Linked DNA regions of Homo sapiens: all the other regions are linked to region 2. The links are contacts of gene promoters, found by promoter capture Hi-C in blood cells and fetal thymus (Javierre and others, 2016). All regions are on one chromosome and are shown on one strand. The core of a region is centred on a gene start or on the middle of the fragment in contact, and the rest is flanking DNA. Distances in the headings are between cores, read along the strand shown. Region 1 holds the start of PRB4 (proline rich protein BstNI subfamily 4). Region 2 holds the start of TAS2R13 (taste 2 receptor member 13). Region 3 overlaps LOC107987435 (a long non-coding RNA gene). Region 4 overlaps SMIM10L1 (small integral membrane protein 10 like 1).

Region 1 (3,539 bases), core at 996-3,495, 400 kb before region 2:
TAGAAAAGGTTGGGAGCTGTTATGAGAGCTGAATTGTGTTTCCTAAAATTTCATATGTTGAAGGCTGTTCCTTCAGGACCTGAGAATATGAACATGGATATTAGAAGGCAAGTGGAGTGCTCAGGGCTTCCACTCACGTCTAGGTGCCCAAGTTCCTGCTGCAGTCCTGCTTCTCTCTTCCACCCACCCTCACCCACAGAGAGTGTCCCTTTCCGCATTTCCATCACCTCTTTTTTGTTTTGTCTGGTGAGTGCATAGCTGATATTTATGCTTTCCTGATAAACTTTACTCATTGCTGACATTGGAGAAGGTCAGGAAAGGGCCTGAAATGAGTGATCTTTAGGGGGGTTTTCATTCTCTTCCTGTACCTTCCTGCCAAGGGGAAGTCGGTCTTGCATCAGGCTGCAGCAACCTCAGTTGGTGACAATATCAGGCAATGTCAGCCTGGCCTCTGCTGCTCCTTTTCTCTGACATTCCTTTGTTACCTGATGGTCTAACTTAAGCCACCTAAGCAGGATTGCTCATCTCCAGTTGTATTCCCATTTCAAGTACGTGTATATTTTTGTCAGGGAAAATACCAATCTTCGTGGTTCCCTTGCAAGGGCAAAGTTATCTGTAGCAAAGCCTTTTTTATTAGGAAGTCTGCTTGTACTATTACCTGCAACTCTTCAGAAGGGCCACCCAGATTCTCATCTGCAAAGCCCAGGATCTACTCATCCACAATGTTCAAGAGGCCTGTCTTTAGGATTTACTGTCACATACCCTCTCTACCTCCATCATACCTCCAACCAAGGTGTTCTCAAATTAATACCAGCCATGCACAAAATGTGAACAATTACACAAGACACATGGAAGGTCTAAGTGGTAAATGGCAGCTGTTGATACTGAGTAACCTGTATATTCCATGAACTGATAAGCAGGTATTTATCAGATATAACGAAGAATCAGTAGCTGAAAGAAGTGCTAACAATGCAGGTCTCTGATAGGGCTTTTTGGAAACACAACACGTATTATGAAATTACACAGACAAGAATGAAACAAAGATGGTAAGTACTATATCCTAATACTTAGAAGATTAAATAAAGGAAATCTCACCAAATTCATGGGGAAAAAAGCCAGATACATAAAGAAAAATACACATAATGGGCTTGACTCAGAAAATAAAATATGAACAAAGAAGAACCAGAAAGAAGGTGGGGAGGAATGCATATCAGAATATTATAGAAAAATACTCTTTGTGGAAGAACAATCTGAGAAAACAGGTAACACAAATACTGACTAAACCAAGAATACCAATATAATGCAATTTAGGCTTTAACGAGGGTATCTGATTATCCTATTTGAATGTAGAATTGTAGCCACTTAATTATAAGTGGTAGGAATTCAATACAATTATTAAAAGAAATGAAGCAGAGGGTGAATATTATAGAATATTCTGGACAAAGGGAAGAGCATGAAGGAAGTTTTGGCAACATGATATCGCATGGCTCCCGCAAGGAATTATGTATTCAGTTTTCTCAGATCTAGAAATTTCCTTATGGTTTCTGTGTACATTTTGCATTAATAACCCCTAAAGGTACTTTAAAATACACAATTTTGGCCTTCCTGTGTGGCACAACAACAAGCCTTGCCTGAGCTGAGTCAGATCCACAGAAGCTTGAACAATAGTTGTAGCCCGAGCAGGCTGTGGGGCAGCTTTCTGTCATCTATGTGTGCCCAGGAGTGTGTTGTCTTCACACCATCACACAGGTAACAGAAACCATCTCTATCGCATCAAAACTTTAGCCAATTGTGATACTATCTGTACACACACATCACAAGAGATGGAAATAGGCTCTATAAAGAGCCAGAGAAATTGACCATCTTCACTGCTGGCTGTAGCTTCACTGCCCCCACAAATATTACACAGAAATAAATAGTAGAGTGGAAAGCAGACATAGTCTTACCAAAAGGATTGAAACTCTAATGATGTCTGAAGTTCAATTATGACACAGTGCTGATAGCTTGGACACAGTTCCTTTAGAACCTTTATTCAAGTCATAGTCGTACCTTTTAGAAATAAGGCACAAACAACATCCAACCCACCCCATCCCTCTGGGCTAGAGTCCCAAAGAGAAATAAGGGATACACCTGACCTGCAGTAAGGAAAGCAGAACCCAGTCTCTGAGGTGGTGAGGCCCACCCAGGGCTCAAAGGTGCCATTGTTTTGCTCCTCTTTATAAAGGGAGTTGCCACGTTCCTCCCAGCACAGAGTTGGGAGTGACTCCAGAGCCTCCAGCGAGATGCTGCTGATTCTGCTGTCAGTGGCCCTGCTGGCCCTGAGCTCAGCTGAGAGTTCAAGTGAAGGTAAAACAGAAGGGGGAAAAGATGCGGTGACTGCTTGGGACTTAGGAGGTGACAGTGGTAATTATGGGGAAGAGAGGAGAATGAAAACACAGATGGGGCTGCAGAGTTTTCATGCCTAGGATCAGGAGACCTGTTGTGCCCTCATTCCACAATAAGGACTTCTAATTTATTTAATGTACAATGAAATCCAATAACGAATTTGTTCCAGGGGAATGAGAAGGTAAGATTTGAATTTATAGAGATAGAACTGTGCTGTGAAGGCTGCAGTGGAGAGTGCAAGGCAGATTCAGGGAAGTCCAGCTGTGAAGATCCTATACTGATCCCAGTAAGTACACAGGGATGATGGTGGCCTTGCTGTACAGACAGTCGGCATTGATGATAGAGATACATACACATCAGAGATACTGCAGAGACAGAACTGGATAGAACACTTGTCTCTGTCTAACTAAAGATGTAGAAATATCAGAGCCAATCATTACAATTTTTCTCTCCCCTACATGCAGTATTTCAATGTGCTGGGAGTGGAATGGGTTAGATTGTATTGAAATGATTACTTCTGGTTACCCCTATTGAGAAAACATGTGTATGTATGCAATATATTAACAGGAGATGGAGGGCATAAGAACACCAAAATATCACATTGAAGTACCTGGCATGCATAAACTAAATAAGCATTAAGTCTTGAGGGATGCTAGGGAGGAAAAAAAGGGGCTGTTCTATGTTGAACTCATTGCTGTTGCTCTGTGTGGTAACAACCCTGCCTCCTCTTACACCTTCCACCCCTTCCAGCACCTTCACAGATGGTGGCTGATGAGTTAACCTAGGGGATGCATGGGGTGTGGTGAGAAGACAATTTTCCCTGTAGAACACTTGTGAGTCTTGAAGATTTGAGATGTAACATTTCCCATCATCCTGTGCTTCTCTTCTAGATGTCAGCCAGGAAGAATCTCTCTTCCTAATATCAGGTAAATCCCAATTCATTCTCAATCTGTTTTGACTCCCTTTTTCTGCTTACAAATGGATCATTTCTCCAGTGTCTTCTTATCAACACTTTCCTTTCAGGAATTGATTAATGTTATTGCCCCTAATGATATAGGCAATCTTCATGCAAACTTGATTCTGGGGACCATGAGCAGGCCACCAAATGGAATGTCAGAGATGCTTGGCTTAGATGACAACAGGAGTGGGTTGAC
Region 2 (3,260 bases), core at 524-3,023:
CTGTTATCCATTCTCTATGTCTTTGTCATGTGTTATATCACAAGTTCTAAAAACTGTGGTATTTTTTCATATACCAGCAAGTACAGTACCATTCCTCAGGCCTATTTGTACAGATTTGGGGTATTATCAAGTTGTGACCGGCATCCCCAAACCCTTTTCTCTAGATAGGTAGGAAGAACACCCTAAAATGAAAAAGTATAAAAGATCTCTTCAGCCCTGGGTCAAGAATGCAAATGGAAGACCACATGCCACATAGCTACATATTTAAAGGTCATAAATATACAAACCTAACAAACTGTTAAAGGAGACATTTTCTATTCTATCTTGACAAATATACCATTATAACAACAAAATAGAAAATATCTACCTATTTTAAGTTATAATTGAAACTTGCAAATCATTAAAGATGATGCAATTATTTTGTAAATTTTTTAGTACTCTGTAGATCACCCAATAAAGATTGCATGAGTAATAAAATACAAACATTCATAATTCACAAATTATATCTTTATTAAATAAAAATAGCTTTGTATTCATCTAGCTAAATGGCTACTTATTATCTTATAATCAAGATAAAGTGTTTTATTTATATTAATTTTGAATTAGACAATCTTTCTTGAGTCTCCACGTTTTCAGAATTTTGGTAATCCACTTTTTTTCGGTAGTTTTTGAAAGAGTGGGGCGGGGTGAGGAACCTTGACTCTTCACAATGAACACATTAGTCCCCGCTTATCTGCAGTTTCAGTGACCCAAGGTCAACCACAGTCCAAAAATAGGTGTGTACAGTACAGTAAGGTATCTTGAGAGAGTGAGAGACACCACACTATATATTTTAACACATTTTTTTACTTTTTATTTTTTTAATTTTTATTTATTTTAGATACAGGGTCTCCCTATGTTGCCCAGGCCGGTCTCAAACTTTTGGGCTCGAGCGGTCCTCCCGCCTCAATCTCCCAAATTGCTAGGATTACAGGGATGAGCCACAACCCCTGGCAACTTTTATTATAGTATATTGTTTTAATTGTTCTATTTTATTATTAGTTATTTTTGTAATCTTTTACTGTGCTTGATTTACAAATTAAACTTTATCATAGGTAGGTGAATACAGGAAAAAAATATATTGTATATAGAGTTTGGTACTATCTGCTGTTTTAGGCATCCACTGGGGGTCTTGGGACATAGGCCTCATGGATAAGGGGAACTAGTGTATCTATTTCTTTGCTTGGTTTTCAGTTTTGCAAGTTATGATGTAATATAGTACTGCTTTCTTTGGTAGCTGTTGCTGATTTTGTAAAATTTGTTTTTTTATCACTTTTAAGTTTAAAAAAGAAATATGAGGGGAAAAGCGGATAAAATGTGAAGGCATTTGGTGCCTATGGAGGGATGGTGGTGAGCACTGCTAAGTAGTGATGAGGCAGGGAATGAGAAAGATGGATGCTTTGTAAACGAGTTTCTCTTTAGTCACAGTATTGACCAGATCCAGCTTTAGCTCCACAAGAAATTGAGCACTCTTTTGAAATAGCATAGGTAAGTCTTTGCATATTTTATAAAGCTTCATTGGCTATGCTATTAGCCATAAAAGCTTCATTTAGCTACATATTCTATGAATCAGATTTTTATAATATTTGTACCTCAGAACTCAAGCTGGTTGAATCTAATTTTCTATGCTCAGACAAGGCAAAAAAGTACAAAACAATGAAAGAGAATATATCTTTATTTGCATGGTTGCAAATGTGAGTTTAACTTTGCTGCATAATCATCTATGAAATATTTCTGCCCATGGTGAAGACATAAATATCTTAGCTAGGGCTCAGCAGAGAAATTGAAGAAAAATAAAGATATCACCAGAACAGTTATGTGAAGATCGATCAGCAAACTTTAGAGATTTCTGCTTTGACGTTGAGCCAACAATGAAAGAAGGAGCAGAAAAAGGAGAAGGAAGAAGAACTCCACTGGACACTCAAGGATGTGAATAGCATTTTAGATCAGTGAATAACCAGCAGTGACATTAGACATTGAACTTTCTCTGTTCTGACATGGAAAGTGCCCTGCCGAGTATCTTCACTCTTGTAATAATTGCAGAATTCATAATTGGGAATTTGAGCAATGGATTTATAGTACTGATCAACTGCATTGACTGGGTCAGTAAAAGAGAGCTGTCCTCAGTCGATAAACTCCTCATTATCTTGGCAATCTCCAGAATTGGGCTGATCTGGGAAATATTAGTAAGTTGGTTTTTAGCTCTGCATTATCTAGCCATATTTGTGTCTGGAACAGGATTAAGAATTATGATTTTTAGCTGGATAGTTTCTAATCACTTCAATCTCTGGCTTGCTACAATCTTCAGCATCTTTTATTTGCTCAAAATAGCGAGTTTCTCTAGCCCTGCTTTTCTCTATTTGAAGTGGAGAGTAAACAAAGTGATTCTGATGATACTGCTAGGAACCTTGGTCTTCTTATTTTTAAATCTGATACAAATAAACATGCATATAAAAGACTGGCTGGACCGATATGAAAGAAACACAACTTGGAATTTCAGTATGAGTGACTTTGAAACATTTTCAGTGTCGGTCAAATTCACTATGACTATGTTCAGTCTAACACCATTTACTGTGGCCTTCATCTCTTTTCTCCTGTTAATTTTCTCCCTGCAGAAACATCTCCAGAAAATGCAACTCAATTACAAAGGACACAGAGACCCCAGGACCAAGGTCCATACAAATGCCTTGAAAATTGTGATCTCATTCCTTTTATTCTATGCTAGTTTCTTTCTATGTGTTCTCATATCATGGATTTCTGAGCTGTATCAGAACACAGTGATCTACATGCTTTGTGAGACGATTGGAGTCTTCTCTCCTTCAAGCCACTCCTTTCTTCTGATTCTAGGAAACGCTAAGTTAAGACAGGCCTTTCTTTTGGTGGCAGCTAAGGTATGGGCTAAACGATGAGAAACTCACAATTTCATAAGCCATTCAGACCACAGATTATTGAATATTGCAGACAGAAACAGGAGTCTACAAGGAGTTTAAAAGATATTTTATGCTTCCCCTGGTTTCTTTTATTGTGAAGGTCACTGTAAATGTTTTAAATTCTTCTCTATAATAGCATCTTACCTAAGAATATTATGTATTTATGACATGTATTTCTACATTATTAGGAATTTGAAACTTATTTGAGGAAATTATTGGCAGATTCTATTGTAAATTAAAAACATATACTACAGCATACTTAGATGTTAATTGTAAATCTACAATCTTTTG
Region 3 (3,143 bases), core at 621-3,120, 290 kb before region 2:
ATATATATATATATTTTTTTTTTTTCCTTCTCTATTAAAAACTGAATTCATACTGATAACTTCATGATATGGTCTGGCTCATCTTGAGCCAAACCCACCCAAATCTCATCTTGAATTTTAGTTCCCATAATCCTCATAAGTCTTGGGAGGGAACTGATGGGAAGTAATTGACTCATGGGGGCAGTTCCCCCCATGCAAATCTTGTGATAGTGAGTAAGTTCTCATGAGATCTGAAGTTCTCATGAGATCCATGTGAAGAAGGAAGTGTTTGCTTCCCCTCCCACCACGATTGTAAGTTTTCTGAGGTCTCCCAGTCCTGCAGAACTGTGCGTCAATTAAACCTCTCTCCTTTATAGTTTACCCAGTCTTGGGCAGTTCTTTATAGCAGTGTGAGAACAGACTAATATTCTTCAATTCCAATTCAAGACCACATGCTACTCTTGCCCTTTCTACATTTACAGTTCCCTTCAAGAAACTTGGCTTCCATTATGCTTAATATATTTACAGTCATCCCTCAGTGTCCACAGTGGATTGGTTCCATGACCCCTGTGGATACCAAAATCCTCAGATGTTCAATTAGGTTTGGCAGATGTGAGGATGTGATACTGTGAAATATGCATTTGGTCTTCCTCCCCAGTTTCCTAACATACAACTCCTAAAATCCTTGTACTCTCCAAAGTGCTTGCTTTTTTTTATACTTATATTGACTGATAACTTCAGAGTGAGGCTGGTCACCAGAATGACCAAAGACAATATTAGAGGGTTGAGACCTTCAGCCCCATCCCCCAACCTCCAGGGAGGGGAGAAGGGCTGAAGGTCAAGTTGATCACCAATGGCCAATGGTTTAATCAATCATGCCTATGTAACCTCCACAAAAACACAAGAAGACAGGCTTGGAGAGCTGCCAGGAGGGCAGTATGCACAGGGAGGGCGTGGAAGCTTCAGGCTCCTTCCCCCATTAATGCATCTCTTCAACTGTATCCTTAGTAATATCCTTTATAATAAACTGGTGAAGGTTAAAAAAGAAAAACAAACCCACAGAAATGCATGGCTGACTGTATACATTTGTCCCACCTTAGAATATCAAAAAGTAGTTTTAGAATTGCTAATCCATATCACTGGAGGGTAGGGGATAACATTAACTAGAGCTTAATATTTATTTAGTATTTTTTTTTTGTCTTTAGACTTGGGGAGTATAGTCCAAGTACTATGTTGCAAGATAAGTCAGTTACTTTTTTCTTTCAGTTTGGTTATGCTATTCATTTGCAATATTTAAGTTTATTTGTTTTTTTTTTGTTTTAAAATTCTACTTTATTTCATGTTACCATCCTTGTTGATTTTAGGCACTTTTGAGTACATGAAACATTAACATGGTACCCCCAAATCAAAACTATGTAAAATCGTGTACTCTCCCAATCCTCAATCCCTTAAATTCCATTCCCACCCACTTCCTGTAGGTAACCAATCTTATTAATATCTATTTTAGCTCTCCTGTATTTCTTTTTCCTTTCTTTTCCTTTTTTCTTTTTTTGACAGAATCTTACTCTGTTGCCCAGGCTGGAATGTGGTGGTATACTCTTGGCTCACTGCAACCTCTGCTTCCTGGGTTGAAGTGATTCTTCTGCCTCAGACTCCTGAGTAGCTGGGACTACAGGCACACAGCATCACACCTGGCTAATTTTTGTATTTTTAGTAGAGATGGGGTTTTACCATATTGGCCAGGCTGATCTAGATCTCCTGACCTTGTGATCTGCCAGCCTTGGCCTCCCAAAGTGCTGGAATTACAGGAGTGAGCTACCATGCCTGACCAGCTCTCATGTATTTCTTTATGCAAAAATAAGCATATTTATGGATATATTCTTATGTCCCTTCTTTTTTTTTTTTTTTACAAAAATGGTGGCGTATATGCATTTCCCCTTTGCTTTTTCTACTTTACAATGTACCCTAGAGAACGTTCCACATCAGTTCATAGAGATCATCCTCATTCTTTTTTATAGCTGCTTAGTACTTCCTTACGTAGACATACCATAGTTAATTTAACCACTCTCCTATGTATGGGCAATTAGGTTGTTTCCAATATTTTGTGAGTACAAACAATGCTGTAATGAGTAAGTTTGTCCATGCTTATTTCTTTGTTAGTGGTACATGTTTAGAATAAATTCCTAGATGAAGAAATGCTGGATCAAAAATAAACACACATGCAGTTTTGTTAAATATTACTCATTTTCCTTCTGTTAAATAAAATGTATGGTAGGTCATTGTTTTGGGTTGAATTCCTGCACTAGCCCCCAACAGGACAAACCAAAATGGAGTCACTCTTGACAAGAGCCATGTAGTCAAACTGAAACTTTAAAAAACAGGAAAATCTCCCATCAGGCCAAATTTTCCAAAAAAAAAAAATCCCCAAAAAAACAAAAAACAGGAGATTCACAGTAACCAGTTAAAAAGGTCCCAGTAAACCTAGGCTGGCATGATATGAAAGTACCCCTTGTTTTAACCCTTTCAAGGAAAGTAACCCTAAGTTAACCAATCCACTTTGTTGTATTATGCTATTTCCTTGTTTCTGCTCAAACTCCCTTACACATATTAATCGTTCTGCTATGCCCATGGAGCATTTTTCTGTTTTATAGATGGAATGCAGCCCAATTCATAATTGATAATAAAAGCCAATTAAATCTTTGAAATCAGTTTGTTGAAATTTTGTTTTTTAACATCTCTAAAAGCATTATACTGATTTGCAAACACCAGCAATGAATGTTTTTATTTCTTATTTCACTAACAAAATAGGTTGACAAGCTTTTAGAACTTTTTGCCAACGTGACAAATGAGGCACAGTTTTAATTTGCTTTTCTCTTATAAGTGAATTCAAATGTCTTTTTATATGGTTAAGGGCCATCTAGCCTGTTTATAATGACCTAGAAGAATAATATCTTCTTTGTCCTCCACAGAGGAAGATTCTCAGTGCCTATCCATAAAGTTTTGGTTTTTCACATGCCACTTTCATCTCTATTTATTAATTGGCACTTAGCCTACTTAATGGGTTGAGGTAAACATTTGCTGGGGCTTTTTGGAAACAGAAGCATGAGACTTTGGCAAAGATCCTGAAATCATTCATTCTGAAAAACCATCATATTAAAATGAAA
Region 4 (3,377 bases), core at 360-2,859, 270 kb before region 2:
TTTTTAAGCATCTCGTATTTTTGGCTTTTTGTTTTTTTGAGACAGGGTCTTGCTCTGCAGCCCTGGCTGGAGTGCAGTGGCATGATCACAGCTGTTTTCTTTTTTTTTTTAATCTGCTGAACATAATCTCTAATTCTCTGCCAATGATCTTAGTTACAGTATTTCATTATTTGGTGGTGTGATTTTTTTCTCCCTCTTTTTGGCTGATGAAAAGTTGTACCCAACTTCCCTCACTAATAATATGAATGATCTCCATTTCTCTTTATTGTTCATTGATGCATGCCACTATTTTACAGTGGCTAAGTCCATATGCTTGGTGTTGAAAGCCATGGAGATGGTGAAGATTTTGTAATGTTCATTGCAGATCCCTAATCAGGATAGAAACTGGCAGGGATGTCCTGCAATTAAGCTACTAAGACTTCCATAGTTTCTTCATTTGTAGTAGGCTTTTGGGAAGGTCCTTGGGCCTTTTAGTTGTCCCAAGAGCACTGCTGAAATTTGTATTTGTGGAGAGTAGGGGTAAGGGGAGGTTTACTTATATTTTGAAAAGATCTCATGACTTGACCTGGTGGTAATCCTGCTGAGCAAATCCTATTAAGTCTAGTTTGTTCAGGCTGCTATAAAAAATACCATAAAATGGGTGCTTATGAACAACAGAAATTTATTTCTTATAGTTCTAGAAGCTGGGAAGTCCAAGATCCAGGCATTCACAAATTTGGTATCTGGTGAGGGTTCATTTCCTTGTTCATAGATGACTTTTCCCTATAACCTTACATGGCAAAAGGGGTAAGGGAATTATTTTGGGGTCTCCTTTATAAAGGCACTAATCCCATTCACGAGGGTTTCATCTTTATGACCTGATCACCTCCCAAAGGTCCCATCTCCTGAGATCATCACTTTGGGGGTTAAATGCCAACATGTGAATTTTTGGGGGGCACATTCAGACCATAGTACAAGTGTTAAAACTGCAAGAAGAATCCCCACACTCAAGGTAACCCAAGTAATAGACTAATATGAATCAATCCAACCCAATTGTTGGGAATTCTCATAGTTCTTGCAGAGGTTCTTTTCTTGGTTCATTTTCTTGGAACTTCCCAAGTCGTCTTTAGACTACTTTCCATGCTCAAACTTCCAAGTATTAGGATATTCCTTTCCCTCATCTTTTGTCCCTATATTCCTCAACTTTCATCCTACCCCTTTATGCTTCTGCATGTAACTTTATTTTCTTCTTGACGCTATCAAAAGCTATTGATGTCCTGCCAGAAAGATCTCCCATTAAAAGCAAACTGCAAGATTTTCTAACAAAATTTAGTTAGGGATCCTCAGGACAGGAACAGACATGGCTTCAAAATTTAACATTGTCTGATCTCTACTCTGGGTAGCACAGGAAAGTGTTTCCCTTCCATTCTGAGGACAACGTTCTTTCCTCTCTCTCCCTTTGCTCCCATATCCCTCAATCCCACCAACCCTCTAATAAAATAAGCCAATAGGTTTAAGGCTGCAGAGAGTATAAAATACTTGAACTTACATATCAAATCATGTTAAATATTTATATTTTAGTATGAAAGACCCTCAATAGTTATGTTAAAAAAAATAACTATTACCCAGGTAATATTTCTGTCCAGAAATTTGAGAAACAGAATTATTTGTAATTATCTACACATTTAAGAAAATTGAACTCCTTATGAAATATAACTTTAGGAATTACTGGAGATTCATTTGAGGTCTGGTTGGTTATCATGACCTTAGGAATTTACTTAACCTCTCTAAATCCCGGTTTGCTTCTCTGAAAAATGATAAAAATGTTTTCCTCACAGGGTATATGTGAGAATTACGGAGCTCATGTATATAAATAGTTTTTCATAGTTCCTGGTATTAAAAACTCAATATATTTTAAAAATGATGCTGATGGTAATGATATGCTATTTGTCAAGTAATCACATGTATTTTTACCCAGAATTAAAAAAAAAAAAACAACTTTTCCCCTATCCCTTAGGTTACATATGTTGCTATGTTCACTGTTTTCCTTTTATAGTTAAAATAAGCTGTAACGCATCGTTTCCCATTTTTTTTTTTGCCAGCTACATTTCTTATCTCTATTGATAATAACTATACCACCTATGTCTCTGCTTTTTCATGCTTGAGGGATCTCTGGATCAATCAACGTGCATGATGGCCTGAAAAAGCCCAATTTATGGGCAATAAAGTGAATCATCTTATTATCAGGAACGAATATATGTTTCCTTTATTGACTGCTGACTATGTAGAGCATACCAACAAAATTGCCATTCATCTATCCATTCAACAATATTTATTAGCTATTCCGCACTGGGCAGTGCTCTAGGCTTGGGGATAGAACAGTGAACAAACAAAATCCTTAGCCTAATGGATATTACCTGGAAGTGTGCCAGGAAGAATAAACTCACTTGTGAATTACAACAATAAGTGGTTTATTCAGGTCAAAATCTTGTTTTGTCTCCTGGGAATTTCACTGAATTGCATCATGTAGGAGGCAAACTATACCCCAAGAATTAAGAGCAATTGTGAATAAATGATAAACCACAGAGTTTACATTTACCTCCTAATACATTTAACTCCTAATATATATATATACATATATTACGAGGTAAATGTAAGCTGTAACTTTATGCATATATTGTAAGTAGTAACTATACATATATACTTATATACTGTATACATATATAGTAAGTAGTAACTATACATATATACATATATAGTTACTACTTAAATTTATATATGTGTATGTATATATATATGTATATATACAGTACACACACATACTGTTACTACCGGGTGTAAAATTGAATAGGATATAGTGTCTTCCCTCACAGAGCTGCCAATTATGTTGGAGGATGTAATAAATACAAAGTCTGTTTCTTCATCTTCGGTTTAACAAATGACTGATGTGAGGAAAAAAGTTATAGGAATATGTTCACATAGTCACCCAAATGGAGCATCCTACTCTGTCACCATTTCAGGATTAAGACTAGACAGTCTTTTGTGTTACAAATTGGGACATCAGTGCTCTGGGAAACAGTGATGTCCACGATTCTAAATCCCTTGGTATTACTATTTCATTGATTAAACTACACTTCTGATATTTTAGACTAAAATGTTTTGGCTTATCGCAGTCTAGGAAACCTGTCTTGGGTATATAAAACAGACAGTTGATGCACGATTAGGGAAAAATAAGGCAACCTATGAAAATGGCCTTATGGATTAAAAGAAGTGAGCTCCTATATGGTCAGTGGAATCCAGGAAAAATTTAATGGAAAAAGCGCCACCTAAGCTTAGCTTTAAAACACAGAGTATCTTCAGGTAGAAAAGGCTATAGGAGAATGTGCCCAAATGGAGTT

The links. Contacts are between HindIII fragments. The CHiCAGO score rates a contact against its expected background, and 5 or more counts as called.
Region 1: a contact is called between the fragment with the promoter of PRB4 here and the fragment with the promoter of TAS2R13 in region 2, in 16 of 17 cell types (naive CD8 T cells, total B cells, activated CD4 T cells and 13 more). The highest score is 18.3, in naive CD8 T cells.
Region 3: a contact is called between a fragment that was not itself captured here and the fragment with the promoter of TAS2R13 in region 2, in 1 of 17 cell types (endothelial precursors). The highest score is 5.4, in endothelial precursors.
Region 4: a fragment that was not itself captured here is called in contact with the fragment with the promoter of TAS2R13 in region 2 in 1 of 17 cell types (M1 macrophages); the score reaches 5.2 in M1 macrophages.

Annotation. Positions count from the first base shown.
Region 1 is chr12:11,309,142-11,312,680 of GRCh38, reverse strand. It overlaps PRB4 (proline rich protein BstNI subfamily 4), which reads left to right and starts at 2,245. Exons shown (of 4, transcript NM_002723.6): 1 at 2,245-2,346; 2 at 3,276-3,311. The coding sequence starts at 2,283. The HindIII fragment of the contact is 5,809 bases long and covers 1,659-3,539 here.
Region 2 is chr12:10,908,075-10,911,334 of GRCh38, reverse strand. It overlaps TAS2R13 (taste 2 receptor member 13), which reads left to right and starts at 1,773. Exons shown (of 1, transcript NM_023920.2): 1 at 1,773-3,260. The coding sequence starts at 2,037. The coding sequence ends at 2,948. The region is part of intron 4 of PRH1-PRR4 (PRH1-PRR4 readthrough); the gene reads left to right. It also overlaps a transcript of PRH1 not described here. The HindIII fragment of the contact is 14,745 bases long and covers 1,585-3,260 here.
Region 3 is chr12:11,203,262-11,206,404 of GRCh38, reverse strand. All of the region lies in intron 1 of LOC107987435 (a long non-coding RNA gene), which reads right to left. Among named protein-coding and RNA genes, the nearest start is that of TAS2R42, 18 kb to the right of the region's middle. The HindIII fragment of the contact is 1,857 bases long and covers 942-2,798 here.
Region 4 is chr12:11,173,281-11,176,657 of GRCh38, reverse strand. It overlaps SMIM10L1 (small integral membrane protein 10 like 1), which reads right to left. Exons shown (of 1, transcript NM_001271592.2): 1 at 642-3,377. Among named protein-coding and RNA genes, the nearest start is that of PRH1-PRR4, 3.3 kb to the right of the region's middle. The HindIII fragment of the contact is 3,407 bases long and covers 1-3,312 here.